Linked DNA regions of Homo sapiens: region 2 is linked to region 1. Evidence: promoter capture Hi-C in 16 types of primary human blood cells and fetal thymus (Javierre and others, 2016). All regions are on one chromosome and are shown on one strand. Each heading gives the region's core, a stretch centred on a gene start or on the middle of the fragment in contact. The rest is flanking DNA. Distances are from core to core; before and after follow the strand shown. Region 1 holds the start of C12orf50 (chromosome 12 open reading frame 50). Region 2 has its middle 75 kb from the start of NTS.

Region 1 (4,738 bases), core at 2,113-4,612:
TGTTCTAGAGTTAGAAGATAGGGCAAAACAAAATGTAGTTATATTTTTCTATGTATCTTTGCCAGTATTTTCAAGGGTTTAGCCAAATCTTTATTCTCTACTTCATTTACCTCTCACACTACCTCGTTTTTTTAATTATGTTCAATTTACATTTAAAAACTTTTTTCTATATTTTATTTTATTTTACATATCAGATTTTTATCCTAAAACATTGTCTTCCAAAAGTTCCCAGCAGCTTAGCTTGTTTTACATAACCGAAGTGGGAATTCATATTTGTCTTAGTCTTTTACATTTCTAATTAAACATACATGACAATTTAAAAATACGTTTTTATCTAGAGTAATGTGTGATTTTCATGGCACCTTTTATGTTATTTATTGATATGACTTGGCTGTGTCCCCACCCAAATCTCAACTTGAATCATATCCACCAGAATTCCTATGTGTTGTGGGAGGGACCCAGGGGAAGTAATTGAATCATGGGGGTGGGTCTTTCCCATGCTAATCTCATGGTAGTGAATAAGTCTCACAAGATCTGATAGTTTTCTCAGGGGTTTCCACTTCTGCTTCCTCCTCATTTTATCTTGCTGCCACCATGTAAGAAGTGCCTTTTACCTCCCACCATGATTCTGAGGCCTCTCTAGCCATGTGGAACTGTAAGTCCAATTAAACCTCTTTTTCTTCCCAGTCTTTATCAGCAGTGTGAAAGCAGACTAATACAGTAAATTGGTACTAGTAGAGTGGGGTGTTGCTGAAAAGATACCCAAAAATGTGGAAGTGACTTCAGAACTGGGTAACAGGCAGAGGTTGGAACAGTTTGGAGGGCTCAGAAGAGACAGGAAAATGTGAGAAAGTTTGAACCTCCTAGAGACTTGTTGAATGGCTTTGACAAAAATGCTGATAGTGATATGAACAATAAGGTCCAGGCTGAGGTGGTCTCAGACAGAGATGAGGAACTTGTTGGGAACTGGAGCAAAGGTGATTCTCGTTATATTTTAGCAAAGAGACTGGCAGCATTTTGCCCCTGCCCTAGAGATTTGTGGAACTTTGAACAAAGTACCTGAGAGATGATTTCAGGTATCTGGTATTGCTGAATCTGGAAGATTGAATGCTTAGCAAAGCATTCAAAAGGTGACTTGGGTGCTGTTAAAAGCATTCCATTTTAAAAGGGAAACAGAGCATGAAAGTTTAGAAATTTGCAGCCTGATGATGCAGTAGAAAAGAAAAACCCATTTTTTGAGGAGAAATTCAAGCCAGCTGCAGAAATTTGTATAAGTAGCAAGGAGCCTAATGTTGATCCCCAAGACCATGGGGAAAATGTCTCCAGGGTATGTCAGAGACCTTCACGGCAGCCCCTCCCATCACAGGCCCAGAGGCCCAGGAGGAAAAAGTGGTTTTATGGGCTAGGCCCAGGGTCCCCGTGCCATCTGTAGCCTAGGGACTTGGTGCCCTGTGTCTCAGCCAATCTAGCCATGACTGAAAGGGGCCAACATAGAGCTCGAGCTGTGGCTTCAGAGGGTGCAGGCCCCAAGCCTTGGCAGCTTCCACATTGCTGTTGAGCCTGCAGGAGCACAGAAGGCAAGAATTGAGGTTTGGAAACCTCCACTTAGATTTCAGAAGATGTATGGAAACACCTGGATGCTTAGGTAAAAGTTTGCTGCAGAAGTAAGGACCTCATGGAGAACCCCTGCTAGGGCAGTGTGGAAGGGAAATGTGGGCTGGAGCCCCCACACAGAGTCCCTCCTGGGGCACTGCCTAGTGGAGCTTTTAGAAGAGAGCCACCATCCTCCAAACCCCAGAATGGTAGCTCCACTGACAGCTTGTGCCATGCACCTGGAAAAGCCACAGACACTTAATGCCAGCCTGTGAAAGCAGCCAGGAGGGAGGCTGTACCCTGCAAAGCCACAGGGTCAGAGTGCCCAAGACCATGGGAACCCACCTTTTGCATCCACATGACCTGGATGTGAGACCTGGAGTCAAAGGACATCATTTTGGAGCTTTAAAATTTGACTGCCCTGCTGGAATTAGGACATGCAGGGGTCCTGTAACTCCTTTGTTTTGGCCAACTTATCCCACTTGCAGTGGCTTTGCCCAATACCAGTATCCCCATTGTATCTAGGAAGTAACTAGCTTGTTTTTGATTTTACAGACTCATAGGTGGAAGGGATTTGCCTTGTCTCAGATGAGACACTGGACTGTGGACTTTTGGATTAATACTGAAATGAGTTAAGACTTTGGGGGACTATTGGAAAGGCATGATTGGTTTTGAAATGTGAGGACATGAAGTTTGGAGGGACAAGTGGTGGAATGATATGGTTTGGCTCTGTCTCCACCCAAATATCAACTTGAATTGTATCTCCCAGAATTCCCACATGTTGTGGGAGGGATTCAGGGGGAGGTAATTGAATCATGGGTACGGGTTTTTCCCATGCTAATCTCATGATAGTGAATAAGTCTCATAAGATCTGATCAGTTTATCAGGGGATTCTACCTTTACTTTCTCCTCATTTTCTCTTGCCACCGCAGTGTAAGAAGTGCCTTTCACCTCCTGCCATGATTCTGAGGCCTCCCCAGCCATGTGGAACTGTAAGTCCAATTAAACCTCTTTTTCTTCCCAGTTGGGTATGCTTTTATCAGCAGCATGAAAACGGACTAATACATTTATGAGGAATATTTTTTATTAATTTCTGCTGGGTTTTAATTATTTGATTAAAGATACTAAGAGGAAGATATAAATAACTGCTGATTGAAATGTTTCATTCTGGAAATCAGAGTATTTCCCTTGTTTTCAACAAATTCTCAAAGCCTTCAAGCACTCTGGAAACTTTCTGCTATAGGAAGAAGATATTCCTCTTTTTATGATGGATGAAAAATAAATGGAATATAGCCACAAGATGAATAAGTAGCCCAATATATTTTCAGGTACCTATTAATATATCACAATTTGAATATGATTTTTCCCAAATCAATGGATAGTAGAGAGTACATATTTAAATAATTGTTTTTATTATCTTAGAATATGAGTAGCTCATTTACCTATGGCAAATTTTTAGTGTTATTCCCAAAACCTCTATAGAAACGAAGATTTAGAAATAGCTGTTTACTTGTGAAATACTTATCACTTTCTATTATAAAAGTATAAACTAGTTTATAGTCCATATTCAACGAGAACATTGAAAGATTAAAGTATGCTATTTTATTTTTGCTAGTCCTTTGTAGTTAATATGCTAAAACTGAGTAAGGGAAATACAGTGTTCACTCAGGTAAACTGTAGTTTACCTGAGTGAACATTGGCCTGCAGTTACATGTGAGGTCATTTATGATGAGCAAACAATGGATTAGGTAACAATGAGGAAAATTCTAGAAGTTTGAGTTTGTGTGCTTACTAGCAACCACTTTCAGCGTTTCTGCAAAGCTAGAGAAGGTATCTTCTAATTTAAATGTCTTTAAGAATTATCTATTGCGTAATATACTGTCAACAGGAGGTCAGTTTTAAAGGAATACTACTGATAGCCTGAAAGACTGTGGAAAAGAAATTATTTTTCCCCCTTACACACTGATAGTTCTTGTATTTGCATTCCTGAAATTCATATATATTTTTCAAAAAAAAAAAACCATTGGATTAGCAGCAAGAGAGTTGAAAATGGCAGAAGTTGGGAATGACTGCTATTTCTTTTTTAATTCCACATGCATAAAGGTAAATATTGTACAATTGACAGTACTTCACATGCTTAATCTTTTTAGTAGAATGAAGGGAGATATGGCAATAACTTGTATTGCTGAACAAAAATTTACTATTTTCTTGCAAGATATCTTATATTTGTAAAATCTGGAGTAACAGCTTATCATGTATTTTTGACATACTGAATTTCTCTGAAGAAATCTGAGATAATTTAAAATTATTATTTGTTTGAAACTACCCTTATATATACCAGTTATATGTCTATAGCTTTTGAATCTTCATGTGGCACTTTTGCCTATATTATGACACCTTGAGACATTAAATTCCTAATATTAAAACATCATAGGTTACAAGATATTGTTTTAGTTAATATGATTCCAGTCATTATAATTCAAATAGTTGAATTCAGGTAAGTGTCAATCTTAGTGTAATAAATCTGTTTTCCTATTTGAAATTTATTAACCCAATTACTGAATTTTCCTCTGTCAAAAGTCTAAGTAATAACAAATATTTAAATATCATTAAAAAAGAAAATTAATATAAACAAATTGGCCACATATAAATTAAACTTTATAAAGTTAAATGGGAAAAACTGAGAATTCCTCCAATGTATTAGGATGTATAGATCTTAGTAAAACCAGATAAAGGTAGAAACTCAATATTTGGAGCTTTGTGCTCATGCAAGAAATAATCCAGTGAAAAAGATGATATGTCTGGTTTCAAGTGTTTCCTCTCTGTTAGGAAACCTGAATGGAGTCAACCTCTCTGACCACAGAAATTGGATTCACTTCTATTACCTGTTAGATTAAATGCTAGGATAATAAAGAATAATAACAGATTTCATGTCCCAGGTGGGCAGAGTGTTTTGTCTATTTCACTGCTGTATCCCCAAGTACTTAGCAGAGTGGCTAATGAGTAAGTTACCAGTAAATAATTAAATGAATAAATAATAATAATAGCTCACAATACCTTATATCACATCATTTTTACAGCTAACCTGTAAGGAAAGTAGTTTTTATTTCCTGTATACAGATGAGAAAACTGAAGCACAGAGAGT
Region 2 (4,738 bases), core at 866-3,365, 2.1 Mb after region 1:
TCCTCATTCCATAACCATCACCACCTCCACCCCTGCCCCATACAATAAGGTTTGTGTGACCTTCTTGGTTCTCCTACACATTCCTCAAATCTATCTATGTTTATTTACTTTTCTGTTCAAACATTTCTAAGAGTTAATTTTAACCTTATTTCAATGGTTTAAGAATGTTTAAGACATTGGAGAGGACTCCTATTCAACATAGTACTGGAAGTCCTAGCCAGAACAATCAGGCAAGAGAAAGAAATAAAAGGTATCCAAATAGGAAGAGAAGTTAAACTATCTCTTTGCTGATGTTGTGATTCTATACCTAGAAAACCCTAAAGACTCCATCAAAAGGCTCCTAGAAACTGACAAACAATTTCAATAAATTTTCAGAATACAAAATAAACATTAAAAAAACAGTTGCATTTCTATACACCAATCACATTCAAACTGAGAGCGAAATCAATAACACAATCCCAATCCCATTTACAATAGTCACCACCAGAAAACAAACAAACAACAAAAACCTTAGGAATACATCTCACCAAGGAGATGAAAGAACGCTACAAGGAGAACTACAAAACACTAGTGAAAGAAATCATCGATGAAACAAACAAATGGGAAAACATTCCAAGCTCAGGTATTGAAGGAGTCAATATTGTTAAAATGTCCATATTGACCAAAGCAATCTGCAGATTCATGCTATTCCTTCAAACTATCAATGTCAGTTTTTAGAAACTGGAAAACACTATTCTAAATTCATATGGAAAGAAAAAGGAGCCCAAATAGCCAAAGCAATCTAAGCAAAAAGAATAAATCCGGAAGCATCCCATTACCTTATATCAAACTATACTATGAGTCTACAGTAACCATAACGGCATAGCAGTGGTACAAAAATAGGCACATAGACCAAAGGAACAGAAGAAAGAATCCAGAAATAAAGCCACACTCCTGCAACCATCTGATATTCAAAAAAGTTGACAAAAATAAGCAATGGGGAAAGTGCTCCCTATTCAATAAATGGCATCAGAATTACTTGGCTATCGACATGCATAAGAATGAAATTGGACTTCTACCTATCATCATATACAAAAATTAACTCAAAAATTTACTCAATTTAAAAGTAAGACCTCAACCTATAAAAATCCTAGAAGAAAACCTAGAAAATACCCATCTGTGTATAACATTACCTGATTTACATTATTCAGGTAATTAATATAAAGAACAAAAGACGAGCTACTATATTCAGTACTTACTTCTTCATTATGTTTTTAGGTTGATAGACACATACTGAAGTAGCTATTTGCTTCACTAAATACTTAAAACAATGTTAAATTAAACTCTGCATTAAGAGGTTTGGAAATAGCCTTCTTTATGCTGGAATTAATCTGTATATACCTTGTGGAAGTGAGGTATAAATGGAAATACTCTAGCTACTACTCTTGGTCACTCAAATGCAACTATTTATATACAGTTATCAATTTTAAAAATATTAGAAAATGCTTCCATTTAGAATTGTAGAAATCTATTAAATAATGTTGCACTCAATTGAAAAATGAGAAGAATCTGGATAATGTACACAAATCATAACTTTTTGTGAATCCATCAGAGAGAAGAGAACAGAAAGCAACCAGGAAAATGGAGCTCCAAAAGGAAATATAGACACATTAACCTTCTGTAGGACATGGGAGAAAGAGATGACCACTACATGCCCATGAAAGAAAAAAATCAGCTAAAAATTAAACAAATTATTAAAGGCCAAGTTTGCATGAAAATGTCGATTCTCAATAGCTGAGATTCCCAGACATAAGGGGAGTTTGCAACTAGGTGCTCACTAGAAAGTTGAAGGTAATACAAAAGAACAGGAAAAGCTTCTTTTAGTGTTGCAAATGTGCAAATAGCATTTGTCTGCTGTGGGGATTCAGGAAAAGGAAACCTGCCCACTTCAATGGATACTTCCTTCTTATGCAAAAATCCTAAGCCCTGGAGGAAGGCAACTAATTCTTTTGCCACCAGATAATATGCAAAGAGCCACTGCTTCTATGGAAGAGCAGAAACAAAATTGCCTCTCCGGTAGGGAAAAGCCTCTGGCTCTCCAGACATTGCAAAAAACCCAGTGAAACTGAAGAGCTGAAGATAAATACATATTTTCATTGGCTGAAAGGCCAAGAAACTCTCTTGGGTAAAGAATCATACAACAATAACAAACTGTGATCTACTACCACTGAGGCAGGAATAGGAGACTCCCCTGCCCAAAATCAACCAGAAATAATACAAGGTACTGTTTGGCTTCCCCGGAGAGGAAGGGCAGCAGTGCTGGAGCTAGATCTTGGCAAAAACGAACAAACAACAACAACAACAACAAAATACTCTCTCTGCTACTGCAATAAGCTTAGCAGCCCCTAACAAGCAACAGCAGTTTAATGCTGGGAGAAGGGCAAGGGCATAAAGTATGTAAAGAAATAAAGAAGTTCAGCTGGGCGCAGTGGCTCACGCCTGTAATCCCAGCACTTTGGGGGGCCAAGACAGGCATATTATTTGAGGTCAGGAGTTCAAGACCAGCCCGGCCATCATGGTGAAACCCTGTCTCCACTAAAAATACAAAAATTAGCCAGGAGGTACTGGAGTGTGCCTGTAATCCCAGTTTCTCCAGAGGCTGAGGCAGGAGAATCACTTGATCCTGGGTGGCGGAGGTTGCAGTGAGCCGAGATCGAGCCACTGCACTCCAGTCTGGGTGACAGAGTGAGACCCTGTCTCCAAAGAAAAAAAAAAAAGTTTAGAAGTTCTGAGATTTTACTATCAAGCAAGCTAGTTAAGCATGCTACAGTTTTATGGATGCTAACAGAAGATATGAGACTCCTGGGTTAGAGCCAAAGAACTTTATTACTCCCAGAACAACAAACAGTATTTGTTTCATTTTAATGGTTGCCCTTGCCCTTGCTCTCCCTCCGCTCCAAGTCTCATGAAGAATACATGGAGCAACCTGGTCAATCCTACACATGCAGTGGGTTTGTCTCACAGATGAGGAATGTTGAGCTTAGGAAACTTCAATCTTTAAAAATGGGCTGCATAAAAGGGAAACTTTATTATACTAAACAGTAAGCAAATCTGTCCTTGGAGGACATCCAGTCCTCCAAGGCTGTTGGCTATACAAATATCCAAGAAAACGCAGTTGGAAAAAAAAGTCTGCCAGTGCCTCTACTCACAAGATATGCAGAAGTGCCAGAGACCGATGTAGTGCAGTGGCTGATATAGGCATGAAGATACTATTGATAACTGAAGTAAAGTAGGGACACTGAGAAAACACTCGCAGCACTACAAGCCCTACACTAAATTCAAAGTAATACAGTTCACTGCTGGAGAAACTTGAAGTCAGTGGTATACTGAGGATAACAATAACAACAATTAAATCATAACCAAGTTTTATTACTAATTAATTCAATTAATATACCAATGATCTGACAGAAAAACAGATGCATTCATTTCTATTTTTTTCCCATATTCATGTAATCTGAATAAGTGCTATGATACAGCCCACTAGCTAAATAAGCAAGATCAATATGGTGAATCAGCATGCACCTGTTTTTCCTACAAAGCATGAAAAATGACCTAAAGGTAATCTTGATTAATATTATTGTAGGAGTTATTAAGAAAGTATTTTAGGCAGATAGAAAGGAAAAGGGGTCCTTGGGAAGTTTTCATTTTTTAAAGCACCTCCAGTAAAGTTTCTTGTAAAGCCCCAGCTCTTAGAGTCAGGCCAGCAACTTTTAATATGCAAATACCAGGCGTTAGAAACTGGGTCCACCCAACATCGCAATTCCCATGGCTTTCTTGCCTTTGCCCTACACGTTACTGGCAACGTGGCTGCCTCCATGTATCCCCCAGGTATCCCCACGTGTGGAGAACATCATGGCGACCTGCATTTGCGTATTAAAAGACTGCGGTGGGTGGGCCAGCTTTTTCACTGGCTACGTGAATGACATGCCTAGTCAAACCAATCTCCTGAGCCATATGCGAATCAGACCCCGCCTCCTCCAACCACTACATATATACCTGGCTGGTATCCGTAGCAGGTGGGCTTCTGTCTCTCAGCTTTGGAGTCCTCCTCCCTCTCTGTTCCTGGGCAGGTTCTTCTTTTTGTCTTCCCCCTTCTTTCTTGCCTATTAAACTCCCTGCTCCTTAAAACTTCTCCACGTGTGTCCATATTGTTTTTTCTAATTCGCCTGGAGATGAAGAACCTGGTGTTTCTCCACTCATCAGAGTTGTATCAATATTATTTTAGGGGAAAAAAATCGGAAGCTATGTATATAGATAAAACTAACATTCACATCTGGTATAGTACATAAATTTTTTAAAATCTCATGGAATATGTAGGCTTCTTAACAACTGTTTTATGAAACACTTTCAAATTACAAAGAACCTATATTTGCAGAAAAATCTTTACATTGGTTTCTTTTTGAAATAGTTATGCCTTCAAATTCAAAGTGAGTTAGGCATACACAACATAGCAGGCAAATTATCTATTAGAAAAGTAAATGCTATTGTGTCCGGAATTGGTTCCTTCCGGAGGGTTCCTGATCTCACTGACTTCAAGAATGAAGCCACTGACCCTCGTGGTGAGTGTTACAGCTCTTAAAGTTGGCGCATCTGGAGTTGTTTATTTCTCCCGGTGGGTTCGTGGTCTCACTGACTTCAGGACTGAAACTGCAGACCTTCCTAGTGAGTGTTACAGCTCTTAAAGGTAATAAGGACCCAA

What was found. Contacts are between HindIII fragments. The CHiCAGO score rates a contact against its expected background, and 5 or more counts as called.
Region 2: a contact is called between a fragment that was not itself captured here and the fragment with the promoter of C12orf50 in region 1, in 3 of 17 cell types (M0 macrophages, endothelial precursors and M2 macrophages). The highest score is 8.7, in M0 macrophages.

The regions. Positions count from the first base shown.
Region 1 is chr12:88,028,025-88,032,762 of GRCh38, reverse strand. It overlaps C12orf50 (chromosome 12 open reading frame 50), which reads left to right and starts at 3,362. Exons shown (of 13, transcript NM_152589.3): 1 at 3,362-3,423. The HindIII fragment of the contact is 7,634 bases long and covers 1-4,738 here.
Region 2 is chr12:85,946,697-85,951,434 of GRCh38, reverse strand. No RefSeq gene overlaps it. Among named protein-coding and RNA genes, the nearest start is that of NTS, 75 kb to the right of the region's middle. The HindIII fragment of the contact is 520 bases long and covers 1,856-2,375 here.